Regions from separate parts of the Homo sapiens genome. Here region 2 is linked to region 1. The links are contacts of gene promoters, found by promoter capture Hi-C in human tissues and cell types (Jung and others, 2019). All regions are on one chromosome and are shown on one strand. The core of a region is centred on a gene start or on the middle of the fragment in contact, and the rest is flanking DNA. Distances in the headings are between cores, read along the strand shown. Region 1 holds the start of C16orf78 (chromosome 16 open reading frame 78). Region 2 overlaps LOC105371240 (a long non-coding RNA gene).

Region 1 (4,455 bases), core at 1,050-3,549:
GACCTGCCAGCACACATCATCTTCCTCTTAGAAGCTTCTTTAAAAGCCCAGATGCTTCTGGGAAAGGTAATGATGCTTGAAGACTTAATTATATTTCCCATGTAAACTTGCTCCCTCTCTAGGTCCAAAGTTATTTACAATAAAAGCCACATTTAAGGTAAAGTTGTTAAAATGTGATTATTAGAATCTTATCCTGGTAAAAGGAGATAGACCTGAACATATTAACCAGGGAAGTGAATGTAATTCCTGTGATGATATTAAATTGAGTTTGGAGAGACCCAGAAGTCAAGCTTCCCCTTCGCCCCCAAATCAAGGCAGTGGGTAGGCTATCTGTAAATCATTAGCACCTTAGAGTAAAATATGTTTGTCAGATGTGTCTGATGGAATTGGCACTCGAGATCTTTCTGACTATAAATGGTAAGTGGTATGGTTTGGATCTGCGTCTCTCCCCAAATCTCATGTCAAGTTGTAATCTCCAGTGTTGGAGGTGGGGCCTGGTGGGAGGTGATTAGATCATAGGGGCACTTTCTCATGGTTTAACACGATTCCCCTTGGTACTGTCATGAAGGCGAGAGTTCTCGTGAGATCCAGTCATTTAAAAGTGTGTGTGGCACCTCGTCCTCCCACTTCTTGCTCTTGCCATGTGAAGTGCCTGCTCCTCTTTTGCCTTCTGCCATGATTGTAAGCTTCCTGAGACCTCCCCAGAAGTGGAATCTCCTATGCTTCTTGTACAGCCATGAGCCAATTAAACATTTTTTTTTATTTTTTTTTTAAATAAATGACCCAGTCTCAGGTATTTCTTTGTAGCAGTATGAGAATGGACTAATACAGTAAGTAAGCACACAAACATAATGGAAGCTTTCCCCAAAGGCAGGTGCTGACCTGGATAAAGCAGAGGAGTCTATGCATTTGGGAATTGGAAAACCTCAGTTTGAGCCCTGGCTCTGCCCTTTATTACTTCTGTGACTTCAATAAAATGACTTATTTTCACTTTCCTTATCCTTCAACTAGGGGTAAAAATGGTGCCTCCCTGGTAGCCTGACTGGGAGCAATTGACCACATAACCCAGGTACAAATCTAAGCACAGGGCCTTGACCACAGTAAACATTAAAAGTTAGTGATGTGTTGAGCATTGTTATTAGTAATGGCATTTTTTACTCATTTTGCTCTAGGGTCAGGAGATTCAAGACCAGGTGGCATCTTCTGCAGAGGACACCACTTTCCAAAGACATGGCTTGGTTCTTCATAGATGATAGGTCTTGGGGGAGCTCTGGGAAAAACTAAGGCAAACTTGGTTGCTACATTTCTTGGAGAAAGAGGAAAGGGTGGGTTAGAACTAGCTCGATGTAGGGTAGAAAAGAGGAGGTATGTTAGCTGGAGTTGCAGTTGCAGTAATGGCAGTGAGGAATGAATGTTCTTTGATTCTGAAGGCATCACAAGGAGAGAAGAGCTGAGGGCAGTAGGAGGATCCCATCCTGCAATATGGAGACCCAGAAGCCACTGCCCCTTGGCCCTTCTAGAATTCTGACCAATACTAACATTTGCCCAGCTTGACTAAACTTTAGACAGGTTTCTTCCTGATGATAGGCCCTTGGCCTCCTTTTCCTTAGAGCATTTCCTCTAGAAAACTTGGATTTGTAAATTTTTTCTCTGCCCCTTTGAGATGTAAATCTCTCAGTCTCTTGCTAGTTTTACAATCCAGGAATGTTTTTCTCAAGGACCTGGGAGGACCCTTTGAAATGTAATCATCAAGAAAGATTGTACCTTGTCTCTCAGTCTCTGTGAGAGGATGGGAGCCTAACATTTATAAGTGCGAATTAGCAACACAGACAGCCTAATCATATTAACTAATTCCCCCACCCCCTTAATGTCCTTGGGTAGTTCTCACTAGCTTATCCCAGCACTTCAAAACCATCCCGCCTTTTGTTTCAGGAGAGTTAAGTTCAATCTCTCTCCCCTACTGCAACTACCTTGAGTAAAGTCTTCCTGCCATTTCTCTTGGATGGTACCCACCTCGGGAGCTTGTTTCTTCTTCCCCTGCCTCCGCTCCAGCCACTCCAGCACACAGGTGAGGTCAGACATGCGCCTATCTTCAGCAGTCTTCCACATGTATTTCCTCTTTGTGGGCATTAAATCCTTCAGGTCCATTTGTTGCTCTGACATTGTGGAGTCTTGCTAGTGGCTTGGGTGGGAGGTGGCTGGCACTGTCTCACTCTTTCGATCCCTTTGTCTGGACTTGATGGCCTGGTGACTTAGAAGGTAGGGTGTGGCCTCCAGATGTGAACATAAAGGGCAGAGTGAGCCAAGACCCTGGGATATTGGCCTTAAAAGGTGGAAGGCCTGGGCAGTGATTGTGAAGTCATTGCCCGTCTTGGTAGCTGGCCCTGAGGTCAGAGTGGAGGTGGGACATTGGCCACCTCCCACTGTTCTCCATGTGGCCACTACCCCTCTTCAGGCGCTATGTCTCCTCTGGACTCTGCCACAGCCTCCTTGCAGCCTCTCCACCTCTACCTCCACAGAGATCTTAATAAAATAAAGGTCTGTCCACGCATCTTCCTTTCTCAAAAACCTTCAATGGCTCCTTGTTGCCTATCTAAAAGAAATCTGAATTCTTTAGTTTGGCATCCTATCTTTCTGTAGTGTACTCTAATTAGAAGAAAGCTTTTTATAAGCCCAATTCGTCTATATTCATTTATTCATCCAACATGTGGTTATCAGGCACCTACTAAGTATTGGGAATGGTGCTGGGGATACAATGCAGGAAAAAAACATAGGCAAACCTCCTAAGACATATGGGCTAGTGGAAAAGACAGGGCAGATAATTACCGTATGAATTCATAATGACAAGTGAAGATGAGTGCTTTCAAAGAAAGGAATGTAGTTCTATGAAAGGCCATATCAATGGTACTAGACTTGGATGGGGTGGTGGGTAGGCCACCTTTGAGCTCTGAGCTAAAGGATAAATAGACTTCAACAGGGCTGTTATGGTCTGGACATTTCTGTCCCTCCAAAATTCATGTGCTGAAATCCTAACCCCCAAGGTGATGGCATTAAAAGGTGGGGTCTTGGGAGGTAATTAGGTCATGAGAGCAGTTCTCTCATGATTGGAATTGGTGCCCTTGCAGAAGAGACTAGAGAGAGCTCCACCATGTGAAGATGTAGTGAGAAGGTGTCACCAGGAAATGGGTTCAGCAGACAACGGAATCTGTCAGAGCCTTAATTTTGGATTTCCTAGGCTTCAAAAATGTGATAAATGAATGTTTGTTGTTTATAAGCTACCCACTTTGTGGTATTTTGTCATAGGCCCAAATGGATTAAGATAAGGGCTTTGGACCAGAGAAATATGCCTGTGCAAAGGCCCTGTGACAAGCGGGAGGCATGGCACTAACAACAGAAGGCAAGGGTGACTAGAGTACCAGAGGCAAAGAGGCAATGGTACAGAGGTGGCCAGAGGCCAGGCCATCCAGGAACTTGGTAGCCACAGGTTCTGCTCAGACTGGGAAGGGAAAGGGAGCAAAGGAAAACAATAAAGGAATTCAAAAAAAGGGGAGGGAGTGGCATGGTCAGGCTTCCCTTTTTTGCTCTAGTAAACTTCTATTGAAGGAAATTATATATACAAAAATGTGCCAGAATCACAAATGAAGACATCTATGTAACCAGTACCCCAGAATCTTCCATACAGCCCCTGGTAGTTATTACCACCCTCCAAGGGTAAACATCATCTTATCATCCAATTTCTTTTTTTTTTTTTTTGAGACAGAGTCTCGCTCTGTCACCCAGGCTAGAGTCGGCTTACTGCAACCTCCGTCCCCCAGGTTCAAGCGATTCTCCTGCCTCAGCCTCCTGAGTAGCTGGGATTACAGGCGCACTGTAATTTTTGTATTTTTAGTAGAGACGGGGTTTCACCATGTTGGCCAGGCTGGTCTTGAACTCCTGACCTCGTGATCCACCTGTCTCGGCCTCACAAAGTGCTGGGATTACAGGCGTGAGCCACCGTGTCCGGCCTTATTATCCAATATCAAACTTTTTCTTCCTGTTATTGAGTTAAATATAAACCAAATAATATGCATGTGATATTTTACATCTGGATTTATTAATTTTGCAATATATTTGTAAGATTTTAGAAATAATGAATTATTTTGTCTTTGTTTATATGGTAATGTCTTTATTTTACCTTCATTCTTGAAGAAAGATTTTCTGGATAATGGAACTCTTGGTTAACAGTTTTTTCATTTGATTGCTTTTTGCCCTCTATTGTTTTATATGGGAAGCCAGCTGTTAACTGCATTTTTGCCTCTTGTAGTAATAAGTCATTTTTCTCTTGCTTGTTTTTCTATTTCTTTCTGTCTTCTGACTGCTTGCCTATGATTTGTCTAGGTGTGGATCTCTACATATTTATCCTACTTGAGGTTTATTGAACATTTTGGATGTGTATTTAATTTTTTTTTAAGTCAA
Region 2 (4,455 bases), core at 1,211-3,710, 650 kb after region 1:
GTGTGAAACCGCTCCACACAGGAAACAGAGCCAAGAGAACTACTGAGAAATGCACACAGAGCTACAAAATTTGGTCAACTATAAAGCTTACCTTGCACCTAAATTTCTGGTTCTGTGAGTCAATAAACATCCTTATTGCTTCAACCAAAGAAAGTTGAGTTTTCTGTTTCTTGAGCTCAAAATCTTTCCAACTGATTCATCATCTAGCCTCACTATCCATCAACACCATTTTCTCCCACTATGCATGCTGTGGCTACCCCAGAAAAGCTTATTTATTTATTTTTGAGACAGGGTCTCGCTTGGTCACCAAGGCTGGAATGCAGTGGTGCTATCTCAGCTCACTGCAGCCTCAACCTCCAAGGCTCAAGTGATCCTCCCACTTCAGCCTCCCAAGTAGCTGGGACTACAGGCATGCACAACCATGCCTAGCTATTTAAAAAAAATTATATATATATATACATATATATATATATATATTAGAGACAGGGTCTATCTATGCTGCCCAGGCTTGTTTAATGCTATGGAAGATTTCAATTCAGGAAATGGTGTCACTTTTTTCCCTGAGATGTCTTTCCATGGAATCCTCCAACTCTGAAGTCCACAGGCTGTCAGACTCATCACCTCTTCCTCACCATTTGTGTATTAAATCACCCAACATTTATTGAGTCTTGTACTGGGCTTCCCACTGTCCTGCATTGGAAAGATGAATCCCAGTTCTGAAGAAGTCAAGATTATGTGCAAAAGAGAGAGAGACAGCTCTTCTGGTTCCATGACTTTGGATTATGTTAAAAATGACTTTTCTTCAGTGCAGCCCACGTGGTCTCAAATGCCTGAGTCTCTCTGGGCCTCCATTTGACCCTTTGTAAAATGACCCTTTCCATCTCCAAGAGTCCATGGGCCTATGACTTATGGTAGCTTTCTTTTTGTATTGCTATTGTTTGAGTGTTTGCGTTTCTCCAAAATTCTTGTTGAAACTTAATCCTCAATGCAATAGTATTAAGAAGTGGGGCCTTTAGGAGGTAATTAGGTCATGAAGGTCCCACCAGATTATTGCCTTTATTAAATGTCTTGAGGGACCAAGTATGCCCCTTTTAGCCCTCCTTGCATGTGAGGACACAGTATTCATCTGCCACTATGCAAAGGCACAGCAACAAGGCACCATCTTGGAAGCAGAGAGTGACCCCTTACCAGACTCTGAATCCACTGCATCTTAATCTTGAACTTTCCAGCCTCCAGAACTGTGACAAACAAACGTTCATTCTTTATAAAACACCAAGTCTAAGGTATTTTGTTACAGAAGCCTGAACAGACTAAGACAGGTGTCAATCTCTACAGTTAAGCTTCTATAGCAGACAATGAACCAGAGGTCATAAAGACTTCTTCATATTTTTTCAAAGCCAGAGTTCATGACTAAGTGAATTTGGCAGCACCATGAGCCAAGTCACACTCTTCCACATAGTTTATAGCAAAAAGTTTTCATAATGTAGCTACCCCATAACAAAAGTATTAGTCATCTCCCCAATATCAACCTTGAATTTCCCATTTCTCTACATTTTTCCCTTCCTAACTTCTTGCTTTAAATGGTATAGCACTATGGTCAAGTTAACTTAGACTAGAACCAGACTGTCTGTTTAATGCCCTCATTCTTTTTGACCCCCACATATCAATCAAGTGATCTTTCTGACCGTGACTCTTACCCTCCTCTCTCACGAACTTCCTTAAAATTCTTCCCTAGTTACAGTAAGACTACATTTGGTTCTCTTACATCTCTGAAAGCTATCACTTCTAAGCCACCTTGGCTAATGCCTCAGCATCATTCATGAGTTATGTGGAACTATCCCTAGGTCCCGTCCTTGCCTTCCTCCCCTTCTAAACTCATTCTCCTTGAGCACCTCCCATCTTGCAAGTAAGTCCCAGACCTGTGTTTTTTCATACCTTTCCTTCTTGTCTGTGCACCAACCCACATTCCGCCCATGTCTTCTCCCTCCTTCCGCTTCTTCAATCTATCAATTAGGATTCATCCAGCAAAAACAGAAACCCTACTAGGTGTTCCAAATGGAGAGAACTTAATACAAGCAATTGACTACTCCAGTGATGGAAGGTCCAAGAAGTCAAGCAGAAGACATTGAGGCAACCCAGAGATCAACCACAGAAGGAATATGACACCAACCCTAAGGATGGAGGGACAGCAAAAAAGGTTGGAATTACCAGAGCCTGAAAGCTGCAGCTGTCCAGCAGACCCTAAAATCATGGCAGGAGCTGCCTGTTGGAAATAAAACCAAGTAAAGAGAGGCTGTCTGGCTACAAATGGAATCAGAGATGAGAGGTAGACACCTCAAGCCATTCTACTAGAAACAGAGAGAGGAGGAGGAATATTCTCCAGCTTCTCCTCTCCCTCACTCTTCAGTCTTCCAAAAATGCTTTCCTGAACTAAATGTCAAAGGACGCTGGGAAATGTAGCTCCCTGTGACAAAGATCAGATGGGAAAAGGACAGGCAAACAGCCAGTTTACCCACCCAGCAAGCTTCATCTCTCAATACCCACATTCATTCAAGTAGCTTCATTCTTCAGTTCTCCAAACCCAAAACCTTCAGAGTCATGCTGAATCTCTTCCTCCTACTTCTTCTGGCCCTCTCTGCAGTTTAGCCAACTGCTCTGAATTTTCTGTAAAATAAACTTCTTGTTAACTCCTCTTCCACAGTTCTGCAGCCACCATTGCAGTACAGCCACCATTGCAGTATAGCCACACTGCAGCCACCATTGCAGTACATTCCTTTCATACCTGGTCTTCCTGTTTCTAGTACCTCTTCCCTTCCAGCCCGCCCACTAGCTCCACATTTTCATTGGGAAGATGGAGCCCTGGTCCCAGCAGTTTCTGCAGAAGTCTCAGGTCTGACTATCTTTCCCTAAGCTTGGTCACATGATCTTCCATGAACCAATCACTGGACAGGTGAAAGGCATGTCCATGTCAGCTAAACAGAGAGAAGATGGAAGACTTATCTATTTATTTTGATAAATGTAAAAATAGTGCTTCTGATTGGTTGGGCTTTAGTCACATCTCATCCTTGAAACCAGAAGTAGGGTCAGCCAGAAAGTGAGTGAAGGGTAGTTCTCCAAAGGAAAAACAAGATTCTGTTTTTAAAAGTATAAGGAATGAATGTTGTAGAGAGGAAAAAAGCAAGGGTATGATACACATTCCTTTCATTGTCTCTCCTGCAAAAGAAACCAACAAATCTCTATTCCTTAGCTGATTTCAAGACTGTGTTATGTTGCAGAAAGACTAGAAACAACCTAAACATCCATCAATGGGGAATGACTAAAGCTAAATGGAGTGATGTGCCATGGTCTTAGGCTTTATTGTTTCATCCAAGGATCAAAGAAAAGAACACACTACAATTTTTTTTATTATACTTTAAGTTCTAGGGTACATGTGCACAACGTGCAGGTTTGATGCATAGGTATACTTGTGCCATGTTGGTTAGCTGCCCTCGTCAACTCATCATTTACATTAGGTATTTCTCCTAATTCATCCATGTCCCTACAAAGGACGTGAACTCATCCTTTTTATGACTTCATAGTATTCCATGGTGTATATGTGCCACATTTTCTTAATCCAGTCTATTATTTATGGACATTTGGGTTGGTTCCAAGTCTTTGCTATTGTGAATAGTGCCACAATAAACATACGTGTGCATGTGTCTTTATAGTAGCATGATTTATAATCCTTTGGGTATATACCCAGTAATGGGATTGCTGGGTCAAATGGTAATTCTAGTTCTAGGGATCACCACACTGTCTTCCACAATGGTTGAACTAATTTACACTCCCACCAACAGTGTAAAAGCCTTCCTATCTCTTCACATCCTCTCCAGCATCTGTTGTTTCCTGACTTTTTAATGACTGCTGTTCTAACTGGTGTGAGATTGTATCTCATTACGGTTTTGATTTGCATTTCTCTGAGGGCCAGTGATGATGAGCATTTTTTCATGTGTTTATCGGCTGCATAGATGTCTTCTTTTGAGAATTATCTATTCATATCCTTTGCCCACTTTTGGATGGAGTTATTTGTTTTTTTCTCATAAAGGGTTTGTTTGAGTTCTTTGTAGATTCTGGATATTAGCCCTTTGTCAGATGGGTAGATTGCAAAAATTTTCTCCCATTTTGTAGGTTGCCTGTTCCCTCTGATGATAGTTTCTTTTGCCGTGCAGAAGCTCTTTAGTTTAATTAGATCCGGTTTGTCTATTTTGGCTGCTGTTACCGTTGCTTTTGGTATTTTAGTCATGAAGTCTTTGCCCATGCCTATGTCCTGAAAGGTATTGCCTACGTTTTCTTCTAGGGTTTTTATGGTTTGGGGTCTAACATTTAAGTCTTTAATCTATCTTGAATTAATTTTTGTATAAGGTGTAAGGAAGGGATCCAGTTTCAGCTTGCTACATATGGCTAGCCAGTTTTCCC

The links. Contacts are between HindIII fragments. The study calls those that stand out against the background at their distance.
Region 2: a contact is called between a fragment that was not itself captured here and the fragment with the promoter of C16orf78 in region 1, in 1 of the 25 tissues and cell types used here (dorsolateral prefrontal cortex).

What each region holds. Positions count from the first base shown.
Region 1 is chr16:49,371,648-49,376,102 of GRCh38, reverse strand. C16orf78 (chromosome 16 open reading frame 78) reads right to left here and starts at 2,299. Exons shown (of 5, transcript NM_144602.4): 1 at 2,014-2,299. The coding sequence starts at 2,163. LOC105371244 (a long non-coding RNA gene) reads left to right here. Exons shown (of 8, transcript XR_001752167.2): 8 at 1,173-3,779. RefSeq lists enhancers at 1,385-2,115, 2,116-2,846. The HindIII fragment of the contact is 5,141 bases long and covers 489-4,455 here.
Region 2 is chr16:48,724,229-48,728,683 of GRCh38, reverse strand. All of the region lies in intron 1 of LOC105371240 (a long non-coding RNA gene), which reads right to left. It also overlaps the pseudogene KLF8P1. Among named protein-coding and RNA genes, the nearest start is that of N4BP1, 120 kb to the right of the region's middle. The HindIII fragment of the contact is 3,311 bases long and covers 805-4,115 here.